Regions from separate parts of the Homo sapiens genome. Here region 1 is linked to region 2. Evidence: promoter capture Hi-C in 16 types of primary human blood cells and fetal thymus (Javierre and others, 2016). All regions are on one chromosome and are shown on one strand. The core of a region is centred on a gene start or on the middle of the fragment in contact, and the rest is flanking DNA. Distances in the headings are between cores, read along the strand shown. Region 1 overlaps PLGRKT (plasminogen receptor with a C-terminal lysine). Region 2 holds the start of INSL4 (insulin like 4).

Region 1 (6,441 bases), core at 1,348-3,847, 180 kb before region 2:
CCAGTACGTACCCCTGTGAGAAACAGATTCGATAACCAGAGGACGTTATTTGCATGTTCCTTTTGTCTTCACAGTATCCAGTCAAAATATTGTTTTCCTAAGTTAGTAAGGTTAGTTTCTCCCGGCTCCTTCAGTGTTAGTTTATTGACTTGTAATGCAGTTGGATTTATTTGTTATAATTTATATTCTCTCCACATCTGGTTGGTTTTAATTAATTATAGTGCTGAGGAGTATATGAAACATTGCTATGGTTCTAATAGTCAAAGCTATATAAAAAAGATACATTCACGGTAGCTCATGCCTGTAATCCCACCACTTTGGGAGGCCGAGGTAGGCAGATCACCTGGAGTCAGGAATTTGAGACCAGCCTGCCCAACATGGTGAAACCTCCGTCTCTACTAAAAATACAAAAATTAGCTGGGTGTGGTGGCAGGTGCCTGTAATACCAGCTACTTGGGAGGCTGAGGCAGCAGAATCGCTTGGATCTGGGAAGCGGAAGTTGCAGTGAGGCGAGATTGCACCATTGCACTCCAGCCTGGGTGACAGAGTGAGACTCCGTCTTAAACAAACAAAAAAGATACACTCCAAGAAATGTTCTTCCTCTTTCTCCCTATTAACTCATTCCCATTCCCCCTCCTCTTTATAATACCCTGTTCCCACCCTTCCTCTATAGGTGTTTAATCTCTTAACCAAGATAAATCTTTGGTTTGTCCTTCCTACATTGATTTGGTACAGTTAATAGCTATATGAGTATTTTCTTATGCCCCCTTCTCTCATGTGTGAAGGGTAGCATATCATTGATACATTGTTTACTTTGCATTTTTCATTTAGCAGTATATCCTGGAAACCACTCCAAATCAATTCATAGAGATCTTTATCATTTAAAAAAATGGTTGCATAGAATTTTATTGTGTAGCTATATCAAAATTTATTCAAATGATGTATGTACACTGTATTAGTTTTCTATTGCTATAACAAATTATCACAAACTTAGTGATTTAAAACAACATAAAATTGTTTATCTTATATTTCTGAAGGCCAGAAGTTTGAAATGGTTCTCAATGGATAAAAATCAAGATGTGAGGGGGGCTGCATTTCTTCTGGAGGGTCTAGGAGAAAACCTCTTTCCTTGCCTTTTTTAGTTTCTAGAGGCTGCCTGCATTCCTTGGCTCATGGGCCCTTCCTCCACATTTAAGCTAGCAGCATGGCATCTTCATTTCTCTCTAATTCTGACTCTCTTGCCTCCATCTTTCACTTTTAGGACCCTTGTGATTACACTGGGCCTGGATAATACAGGATACTCTTCTTTTCCTATCTTAAAATCCTGAGCTGAGTCAGATCTACAAAGTCCTTTTTTGCCACGTAAGGAGATACATTCACAGGTTCTGAGGATTAGACATGGGCTTCTCTGAGGTCCCATTATTCTGCCCACCCCAGGTACTTAGGTTATTTCCAATATTTTGCTATTACAAACAGTGCTTCAATGAATAACTTTGTTCTTTCATATTTTTATATTGTTAGAGGTGTATCTTCAGGGTAGATTTTTAGAGTTGAGATTGCTGAGTTAAAGGCAAGTACTTGTTAGATATTGCTACGTTTCTCTTCAGAAGGGTTTATCAATTTGAAAGTGGCTATTTTCCCAAAGTCTCACCAACAAAGTATGTTGTCTTGCTTTTTAGTTTTTGCTAGCCTGACAAGCAAGAAGTGGTATCTCAGTCTTGCTTTAATTTGCTTTTCTTTAATTATGAGTGAGTTTGAACATTTTCTCACATTTGAGGGCCATTTATATATCTTGTTTTTTTTGTGAATTTTCTGTTTATTGGTCTCTTGTCTACTGTCCCTCAAGTGTTCTTTGAATATTAGGAGTATTGGCCTCTTGTCTATGGATATATCTTCCTAATATTTTATCTCAGATTGTCACTTGTTTACGGTGGTTTAAAAATTTTTACACCATGAAAAAAAGTTTAGTTTTATGTGGTCAAGTTACCAATATTTTATTTACTCTACATTTTGATTCTTGATGTAGAAAGCTTTTCCCTATACCACAGTTATCCTTGTTTCCTGTGGTACTTTTGTCTTCGTTCATTTTCTGTTGCTATAATCCAATATACAGACTGGGTGATTTATAAAGAATAGAGATTGATTTAGCTCATGGTTCTAGAGGCTGGGAAGTCTCCTTCCTTCTGCATCAGGACATGGCGGGAAGCATCATATGATAAGACAGAGCAAGCAAGCCCAAGAAAGCTTGGTTTTATAACAAAGCCATGATAACAAACCTACTCTCATGATAGGGACATTAATTTATTCATGAGGGCAGAGCCAGCATTTATTCATTCATGAGGATAAAGGATTAAGTTTCCCACACATGAACTTTGGGGGGACACATTCAAACCATAGCAACTTGTATAGCTTCATTTATTGACATTTAGATTCCAAATCCATTTGGGGTTTATTCTCATATATGATATGAGATAGGGATCTAGTTTTATCTTTTTCAGACGGCTACCTTGTGGTACCTATACCACTTATTAAGAAGTCTATCTTTACCCCCAGTGAGTTGAGATACTACCTGTATCACATACTAAGTCTCTGTATGTACTTGCATTTGTTTCTGGACACTCTAATTCACTGGTCAGTTTGTCTAGTCATGTACTAGTATTGTAATGTTTTAATTATAGACACTTTTTAGTATGGTTTAATGCTTGTTGAGGCTACTATACCATTGTAGTTTTTCTTTTTCAATGTTTTCTTGGATAATCTTTCATGTTTGATTTTCCACAGAAATTTTGGTATCAACATGCCCAAGTATAAAATAGTCTGTTGATATTTTTCATTGGGATTGTATTAACTTATAAGTTTATTTGTGAAGAACTATTGAGTCATTTTATTCAAGAATAGGAAATGTTTTTCCATTTGTTTAAGTCTATTTTAATGTCTTCCAGAAGCTTATAAATAAACTGTAGGCTAAACTAAAGAAAAAATGAAATTTTAAGTTAAATTTAAAACTGTAATATCTTGTCAGTAATTGGAAATATATTCTTATAGTTGGATTTCTTACCTAGCCAGCAAGAGGATGTGTTAGCAGTGGCTTAACGTCATGGTATGGCTACTGAGGGCTGTGGATTCATTCTTCTTTGTGTGCACTTGCAGGTTCACAGGCTTTGGAGTCACATATACCTGTGTCCGAACCTGACTCTATCACTTACTGGTTCAGTAACCATGGATAAGTGACACAGGCTCTCTGAGTCTGGCTTCTTCATCTCTAAGATGGGGAGAAGGATACCCAAGAATTGGTTCATGTAGCAGAGTAGATGCTCAATAGTGTTTCCCTCTTTTCTTTTCTTTTCTTTTTTTTTTTTTTTGAAACAGGGTCTTGCTCTGTCTCCCAGGCTGGAGTGCAGTGGCATAACCTTGGCTCGCTGCAACCTCTGCCTCCCAGGTTCAAGTGATTCTCCTGCCTCAGCCTCCTGAGTAGCTGGAATTATAGACGCATGCCACTGTGGCCCGGCTAATTTTTGTATTTTTAGTAGAGACGGGGTTTCACCATATTGGCCAGGCTGATCTCAAACTCCCGACCTCAGGTGGTCCACCTGCCTCGGCCTCCCAAAGTGTTGGGATTACAGGCGTGAGTCACCGCAACTGGCCTGTTTCCATCTTTTCTTGTCTGCTTTCTTTTCTCTTATTTGCTCATGATGACTACTCCATTTTTTCTTTCATCTCTAGTTTCATTATATACATAACCAGAGAGTAAGTTAAGCTAAATATTATCATACAAATACCCATTTTGTTTAGCCATATAACAATTAATATTATATCAAGCTGAAGTAAATAATGCTGATTTATTTCATCTAGAGTGTTGTGTATTGGTCTCAAGGTAAAAGGCTGTGCTTTAAAAAATGGAGACAAAATTTTATTGTTCATTTGTAAACGCTTATTTGATATACTGATGCCATTTCTAATCTTTCTCTGTGGTACAGGCCATAAACCTGTACTAGAAGTGAAACGTTTTAATTTTCTACTGTGGATCTGCCTTATTCCAAGAGCTATGCAACAGACAATAGTGTTAGACAAAGTTTCAGTATGAACAAATTAATTCATTTTTTATAGAGAAGCATAATCTAAAACATAATTTTCCCAACCCTGCCTGCTTAAACTGCTTATTGCCTTAATTATGATTTCAACATGATTTTGGTGACTTCTGTTAATTTCTTTTTCTTTTTTCTTTCTTTTTCCTTTTTTTTTTTTTTTGAGACAGAGTCTTGCTCTGTTACCCAGGCTGATGTGCAGTGGCACGATCTTGGCCCACTGCTCACTGCAACCTCTGCCTCCTGGGTTCAAGTGAGCATGTCAGCTAATTTTTGAACTTTTTTTTAGTATAGATGGGGGTTTCACCATGTTGCCTAGGCTGGTCTTAAACTCCTGACCTCAAGTGATCCACTTGACTCAGCCTCCCAAAGTGCCGGGATTACAGGCATGAGCCACTGTGCCCACCCACTTCTGTTAATTTCTATGTCTTGAGTTTATAGTGAGGTTGATTGCACAGATTGTATAATGTAGTGTAAACTTTTATACTTGAAAATGATCACCTTAAATGCTTATTTCAGTCACAAATAGAAAAATGAATAGGTACAATTAAGGCCAGTAATAGCAATTTTTCTTGCTTTTAAAAATAAAGTTTTAAAGTCAAAATATTATTTTATTATTTTAAAAGCAATCATTTTATCATCTTATATGCTTGGTTTCTAGGGTTTTTAAAGGTAAAAATTTCTCCAGGTCCCACTTCTCCTATGCTTGTTCTTAGATAAGAATTTGAAAAGCCATGCCTTAGAATGTTTCTGGAAAAAAAAGTTAGAATTTCATTATTCCAAGATACATTGGAGGTATTCCAAGATACACTGGGTAAACACTCTCATTCCAAATAGGAGAATTTGGCCAAAATAAAGGGGCTACAGGCCCCATGCATCTAAAACCCAGCAGGGCAGTCATTAAACCTTAAAGCTCCAAACTGATCTTCTTGGACTTCATGTCCCACATCCAGCGCACACTGGTGTGAGGGATGGGCTCCCAAGGCTTTGGGCAGCTCCATCCCTGTGGCTTTGCAAGGTTCAGCCCCCACAACTGCTCTCATGGGCTGGTGTTGAGTGTCTGTGGCTTTTCCAGGAGCAGGGTCTGAGCTGTCAGTGGATCTACCACTCTGGGTATATATATAAAGGGGAGTTTATTAAGTATTAACTCACACGATCACAAGATCCCACAATAGGCCATCTGCAGGCTAAGGAGCAAGGATAGCCAGTCCGAGTTCCAAAATTGAAGAACTCGGAGTCCGATGTTCAAGGTCAGGAAGCATCCAGCACGGGAGAAAGATGTAGGCCAGGAGGCTACGCCAGTCTAACCTTTTCACGTCTTTCTGCCTGCTTTATATTCACTGGCAGCTGATTAGATGGTGCCCATCCAGATTAAGGGTAGATCTGCCTTCCCCAACCCACTGACTTAAATGTTAATCTCCTTTGGCAACACCCTCACAGATATACCCAGGATTAATACTTTGCATCCTTCAATCCAATCAAGTTGACACTCAGTATTAACCATCACAGTGCCCCAGTGGAATCTTTGTGGGGGCTTCAACCCCATATTTCCCCTCTGTACTGCTCTAATAGAGGTTCTCCATGAGGAATCTCCCCCTGCAGCAGGCTTCTGCCTGGACATCCAGACTTTTCCATACATCCTCCAAAATCTAGGAAGAGGCTCCCAAGCCTCAACTCTTATCCGCTGCATACTCACAGGCTTAGCATCACATGGAAGCTGCCAAGACTTACAGCTTGCACCCTCTGAAGCAGTGACCAGAGCTGTATCTGTATCTGAGCTGTATCTGACCTGAAGCTGGAGCTGGAGTGACTGTGATGTGGGGGAACAGTGTCCCAAGGCTGTGCAGGGAAGTGGGGCTCTGGGCCTGGCCCAGGAAACCATTCTGTCCTCTTAGGCCTCTGGGCCTGTGATGGGAGGGGCTGCTGCAAAGGTCTCTGAAATGTCTTCAAGGCCTTTTCTTTATTGTCTTGACTATTAGACTTGGCTCCTCTTTACTTATGCAAATTGATGCAGCCTGCTTGAATTCTTCACCCAGAAATGGGCTTTTCTTTTCTACCACATGGCTATGCTACAAATTTTGTAAACTTTTATGCTCCCTTTTAAATATAAGTTCCAGTTTTAGGTCATTTCTTTGCTTGTGCATATGAGCCTAGGCTGCTAGAAGCAGCCAGTCTACATCTCAAATGTTTTGCTGGTTAGAAATTTCTTCCACCAGATACCGTAAATCATCACTCTCAAGCTCGAAGTTGCGCATATCCCTTGGCAGGGGCACAGTGCAGCCAGGCTCTTTGCTAAAGCTTAAGAGAAGTGACTGCTCCGCTTCCCATAGGTTTTTCATTTCCATCTGAGACCTCA
Region 2 (6,481 bases), core at 1,153-3,652:
ATCAAATCTGTGACGTCCACTTCTCTTTTTGCGGGAAAGTATTATTTTCTTCAATGATGGCTGCCCTTCAGACAGTGGTTTCTTCAGCTCTGGTGACAAATTAGGAATGAATTCTGATGTCGTACCTAAGGCTTGTCCATCTTTGTTGTTGGAGGTTGACACCATTTCTGTGAAGTAAAAGAGAGGAATGAAAGGTGAGGAAAAACATTCATGTGAAAGAGGATCAGAAAAATTATACAATTTGCCTAGACCACAATGTACCCATTGCCTCCATGTAATTAAACACCAGAGAGAATCAGCAAGTATCCTAACATTTCAACAACTTAGCTTACTTAGAGTAGGGCACTTTAAGATACTACAATATTAAGGATATGCTAACTCCTCATCCTGTCCCCTCTATGCACTCTTCTAATGACCCTCTAAATGCCTATACCATACCACTTTTGACTCTCCCTGACACTGTTTTGATTGATAACCTCAATGCATTATGTACTGGATAGCAATAGGGAATTTTTTTTATAATCACAAGTTATTCTAATAGAAAGATTCAGATATTCAAATCTGATCCACATAAATCTATACATCTATATCAGTGGATCTTAGCTAAAAGGCTGAGAAGCAACATACATCTATATGTGTCGACACCAAATGTTAACATTTGTTATCCATGAATACTTTCCATTTTTCTTGTTAAATTTATCTATATTTGTCAAAGTATTTAAATGAGGATTTTCACTTATTTACTGAAAAAAAGTGAAATTTAAATAGAAATTATAGTACAGCATGCTCTTCCTTAGTTTGCATTAGAAATTGTTTGGACTTTGTGGTATTCTTCCCTTATTTTATAGTAAAATGAAACAAGCTCTGACTAATAATGTAAAAAAAGGAAATAACTTTGAAATCGTTATATAAATCACACAAAATCCAAGTGCATTCACTGTGCACGATAACTTTAAACAGAGTCATTTAATGATTTAATGAAGTGTATGCATATGGGTTACAAGAAGCAGTTCTGGAGTCACACATTGCTGGTTCAAAACCTGTGTCATTTGTATTAAATGTAAAACAATGTTTAGTAATTTAACTTAGCTTTTCAGAACTTAATACGACCTATTAGACAGAATATAGTAGCCTCTATCTCTTTTCGAAACTGCCCCTGCTAGTTTTAACTTAGCTGGCAATTTATCTTTATGAATACCTTGTTACTTGGTAAAGTTTGAAAACTATCCTGGTATTGAACTTTCCTCAATTCTGAAATCTTGCTTTTAAAGAAAATGCTTTGCAGTCTCAAATGTTGAAAACACTAATCAAATCAGCTATGATGGTCTGAACAGTGAAATTCCCTTGTCTCTGGTCCCCTTCAATTTCCCCTCTAGTCATCCAGGCCACTTTCTTTCTCTTCATCTCATCTCTCTCAACACACTACAAGAGTAGATTCAAAGAAATGGGAGGCAAGGTGCTCTGTTGGTGTGCATTAAAAAAAACTTTTTTGTAAGAGGACGTTTTTGGTGACATAGACCACTGCCCAGCTTAATGACAAAGGATGAGAGTTATTAAATCTAAGCCCCCTTTATCTCACATTCCAGGAACCTAACAGAGGTCTCAGTGTGCTGCCCCTAGGCCAATAGGTGCATAAACAGAAATGATAATCAGCTCATCACCTCACTGTTTGTCCCCTTTCTTCTTAATTGAAGATGCCTGGCCCAGGCATCTCATTGCAATCACACCTGTTTTCTGGCCTGCCCAGCTTTCCTGGGGGTCTGGGAGTACACCTCACCTCCTGCTGGTGTTTGAGAATAGTCACCTTCTCTGAGGATTCCCTGTTTTCTCCACCCTGTATCTCTGGCTGCCAGGTGGGAAAGGCACCAAGAGCCTCCAAGGTGAGGCTGTTCTTCTGTTTTTCCTGCAGCTTCTCCTCTACCCCCAACTTCCCATGAGATTTCTGGTGAGACCCTTTTAATAAAAGCACATTACAATGAAAAACCACAAACTTGTAGGCACTAGCCACAGTAGAGTCTGAGTTGACTACAGGCAGTCAATGAGATCTGGAGCCTGTTTTTTCAGGCCTCATTCTGATTGTTTGGTAGTCCAGGGCTCTCACCTTTGGGACGTCCAGATTCCAGCAGCCACCCTCCTGGGGTGGTGGTGAATGTCTTCTCAGGCATGGGGCAATATGACAGCAAGTGTTTTCCAAATCGGGGACCACATCCCCTCAGCTCTGCTGCTAGGCTTTCTCTAAGGAGTTGGCTCAGCAGCAGCCAGATTGCTGGCAGATAGGACCGGAACAGGCTGGCCATCCTGGACCTGAACTCTCCTGTTCTGGGTGTTCTCAGCCTTTCTTTAGAGACTTGCTGCTGTAGCCTACCAGACTGTGCTGGTGTGTCCCTTCTGGGCTCCAGACTGCTTTCTGCATGCCTTCATCAGGCATTTATTTGCTTAGGGCTATTACTCAGCTTTTGCGTCAATGGTGTCAGTTCCACCCCTTTCCCACCCACCTACAAGGAACTTTCTCCCTCAGTTCTTATTTAGTCTCCCTACTTGCCCTACCCACACTCTCATATCCCTCTTTGCTCCCAATGTGCTGCTGCACTTTGCTTGTTTTGAATTTGGTTGTTCTACTTCTTTTTCTTAACTTTCCTCCTGTAATACTATTTTTATGCTTACTAAAATAATGGTAATTTTTAATGTCCTTTGCTTAGATGAAATAAAAATAGAACTGACCTGTAAGCTCATTGGCTAGAAATTATCTTAGTTAACATTTGGCATATAAGCTTTTAATTGCGGGGGTCTGTCCCACAGACCCTGACCCAACGACGGATGAATAACATACACTGACACAGATAGTTTGCCTGTCAGTCCAGCTGAGGGTCCGGGCCACCTACAGACACCAAGGAGGGTGCTGTAAAGAGTTGCAGCCGTGGCCCCGATCAGCCAGCAAAGCTCACATTTATTCAGCATAGATTAAATGACGAAGGTCTTGAGTAAACACCACTAGAAGGTAATTGACATTGCCAACCTCCCGAGTAGAGAGCAATTATGCACCCGCGGTTGATCAAAGATTAGTCTTAGGACCACATGAGTAAACAAACTAGATAAACTACATTCATTTGTATCTGTGCCTTAAGCTATTAACTCAAGGTAAGGATTAGGCTGCCTTCAGCCTGATCTATTACTGGAGCTTATACAAACCCCTCCGGCGTTTCAAAAAGGTTTGCGTCTTTTTCTTATAACTATCTGAAAAAATTTTCCCACCAGCCTGACTGAACTCTCACATCTCCCCCCTTTCTGTTCTTTGCATCGGGTTCTGTTGACTTAAGAGTACAGATGTGTGCAGCAACAGGTTTGTTAGGTTTTGCTTTTATTCCGGCTTTGCATCATAGAATTAGCAAATAACGTAAGACAATCATGAGTATAATTAGTAACATTCCTTTCCAGTCAAAGTGTGACCCCCAGGATCGGGGGTATAACCAGGAGAAATGATCTTGCACACCTTTCCATATGGCTGTTTGTTGAGTATGTAGATCTATCATGTGAAGGGATTCTAAAATTTTAGTTTTAAGTTGCTTTACGTCTGCTGTTAAATTGTCATGAAAGTTTCCCCAGAGGTGTTGTTTCACCTCATCCCAACTATGTATTGATTGATTCCAAGGTAAAAATGTGACACAGATATGTTTATGCTCCCAGTCACAGTTTAATTGCTATCAGAATGCTAGGGCATCTTGTCGCTCCCCCACAAATTCCAAGGCAGCCTCGAGGGCTTGCAGACGTGCAAGAATCTCTTGATCTATACCCTGCTGTAAGAGAAGTTCATTAGACACATTTCTGGCCAAATTGTCTACAAAAGCAGCTGTTTGCACTGATTCGGTAGTAGATGCTATAGCCACACTAGCAGTTGCTAGGATGACTATGGCTGAGACTATAAAGGTTATAAGTGTGCCTATAAATCTTTTGGGTCTGACCTGGGATAGGGCACATTCTAAGGTGGCAAAGGAAGAGGAACCTTGCCAATAGTGTGTCAAATTGACGGGTAGGAATGCCTCAGATTGTCTCCTTAATACCATGACACTAGTAGTATTTAAATTAGATATATTGTAATTAGTGGTACATGAGGCAAACAAAGCCTGTCCTTGCACCCGGGTCACAAACATGGAATTTTGGGTTGTAATAGAAATATTAGTTCCCATAAGGAAAACATATGGATGGAGTTGCAAATTAGGGACTGATCAGTGTGATTATGAATAAAGGTTATAGTATAGTTGTTACTGTAATTATGATATGTCCCATGCCAGGTGTCAAGGGAGGTGCTAAGATGTCCCAGGCAACATAAAGTGTCTTGGGGAGGCATCAACTTTACTCGGGGTCTGGGATATCCTATCCTCCCATCGGCCCAAATCATAAGGGAATGGGACGAGGCTATGAAACTGTGATCGATGCCATGATGGATGAGGATATCAGTAAGGCTGCCCTACAAATGGCCACAGGGGCTCCAGTCTAGGATGTTATAATTGCCTAACTGGAGGCTATGAGCTTATTCCCCATGACAGATCTCCCAGCTAAAGTGGAATCCGTTATTTTTCCGGCTTTGTTCTTTAGCACAGGAAGGAATGTTTGGGAAAGCAGACTTGATTTCCGTTTTGAGGCTACCTGCAGCTAAGACTGTTAAGGCACTTCTTTTGCCATGATGTAGCCATAATTGTGTTTCAGTAGGTGCACACTAAGGGTTAGAACATTTATAATTTACACACAATGGGAGGATAGTAGAGTGATCTGTAGTGTTATCTGGCACCTTAGTCCAATGTGTGCCATTATTGAGGAACCCCACTGGGGGTAAATCTATCCCTCCTAGCTAAGCAGTCACGTTATTAAAGGCTGGGAAGGGGTTGTATACCCAAGTGACAGGGCAAAAGAAAAGTGGATCTAAGATATGAGCCCAATAGAGTGTAGACATTGCCACCCTCCCGAGTAGAGAGCAATTATGCACCTGCGGTTGATCAAAGGTTGGTCTTAAGACCACATGTGTAAACAAGCTATTTAGATAAACTACTATACATTCCTTTGTATCTGTGCCCTAAGCTATTAACTCAAGGTAAGGATTAGGCTGCCTCCAGCCTGATCTATTACTGGAGCTTATGCAACACCTCCAGCCTTCCAAGAAGGTTTGCATCTTTTTCTTATAACTATCTTTAAATTTTTCCCACCAGCCTGACTCAACTCCCACATTTAATATTTCTCCTAACTTACTCCGTATTTATTTGTATTTTTTCTTCCAAACATTAAAATATATTGTATTGATTTCTATATTGTCTTGTGTATCTATCCATAGTATTTTGATGAGTGGATGGATCAGTTGTTCATTAGAGAAAGACGACTAGTGATGTTTAAACCAGGTCCTGTGAACACTATTAAAATTCCAATAACATCACTTTAGGCTTGTATAACAATGTTTGAAGTTTACAAGGAACTTTCTTCAAAGGTATGTACTTACATCTGCCCTCCATTGATCCTGAGAAGGATGAGAAACACAGGCATCCTATAGGGTTGACTGTTAAGTCTTGGGAGAGCACCCATGGAGGTTTTTTTTATACTTGGGAGAAATCACATTGTATCTTTCCATGAATTTCTTTCTTTGAACTCCCATGGGTGATTGATTAATTGTTACCAGTTATCTGAATACTTAATTTGAAACTACAATTACTGTCTCTAGAGTCTGGAGCTGGAGGCCACACACACACACACACACACACACACACACACACACACACACACACACCAAAAAAGGCAAGAAAAGAGCAGAAGAATTCAACAGTTTCAGGGAGAACATATTGGTAACACATGTTCATGCACAAAATTGTATACCTTTATGATCAACTTTTGTATACTATGTGTGTTGTAGTTTGTGAAAAGGGTTTTTAAATCACATTTTATTATTTATTTCCTATTCCTTTTTTTTTCAACTTTAAGTTCAGGGGTACATGTGCAGGATGTGCAGGTTCATTACATAGGTAAATGTGTGCCATGGTGGTTTACTGCGCAGATCATCTCATCACCCAGGTGTTAAGCCCAGCATCCATTAGTCATTCTTCCAGATGCTCTCCCTTGCCCCACCACCCCCACAGTTGCCCAGAGTGTGTTGTTCCCCACCATGTGTCCATGTGTTCTCATCATTCAGCTCCCACTTATAAGTGAGAAAATGCAGTGTTTGGTTTTCTGTTCCTGTGTTAGTTTGCTGAGGAGAACGGTTTCCAACTCCATCCATGTCCCTGCAAAGGACATGATCTCATTCCCTTTTATGCATAGTATTCCATGGTATATGTACCACATTTTCTATATCCAGTCTATCATTGATGGGCATTTCAGTTGATTCCATGCCTCTGCTATTGTGAATAGTACTGCAGTGAACATAAGCGTGCATGTATCTTTGTAATAGAATGATTTATATTCCTTTGGGTGTATATCCACTAATGGAATTTCTGGGTAAAAT

What was found. Contacts are between HindIII fragments. The CHiCAGO score rates a contact against its expected background, and 5 or more counts as called.
Region 1: a fragment that was not itself captured here is called in contact with the fragment with the promoter of INSL4 in region 2 in 7 of 17 cell types (endothelial precursors, megakaryocytes, non-activated CD4 T cells and 4 more); the score reaches 6.7 in endothelial precursors.

The regions. Positions count from the first base shown.
Region 1 is chr9:5,408,306-5,414,746 of GRCh38, reverse strand. All of the region lies in intron 3 of PLGRKT (plasminogen receptor with a C-terminal lysine), which reads left to right. Among named protein-coding and RNA genes, the nearest start is that of PLGRKT, 26 kb to the left of the region's middle. The HindIII fragment of the contact is 701 bases long and covers 2,247-2,947 here.
Region 2 is chr9:5,227,340-5,233,820 of GRCh38, reverse strand. It overlaps INSL4 (insulin like 4), which reads right to left and starts at 2,402. Exons shown (of 2, transcript NM_002195.2): 1 at 2,102-2,402; 2 at 1-167. The coding sequence starts at 2,297. RefSeq lists a promoter at 2,308-3,125. The HindIII fragment of the contact is 5,637 bases long and covers 1-2,773 here.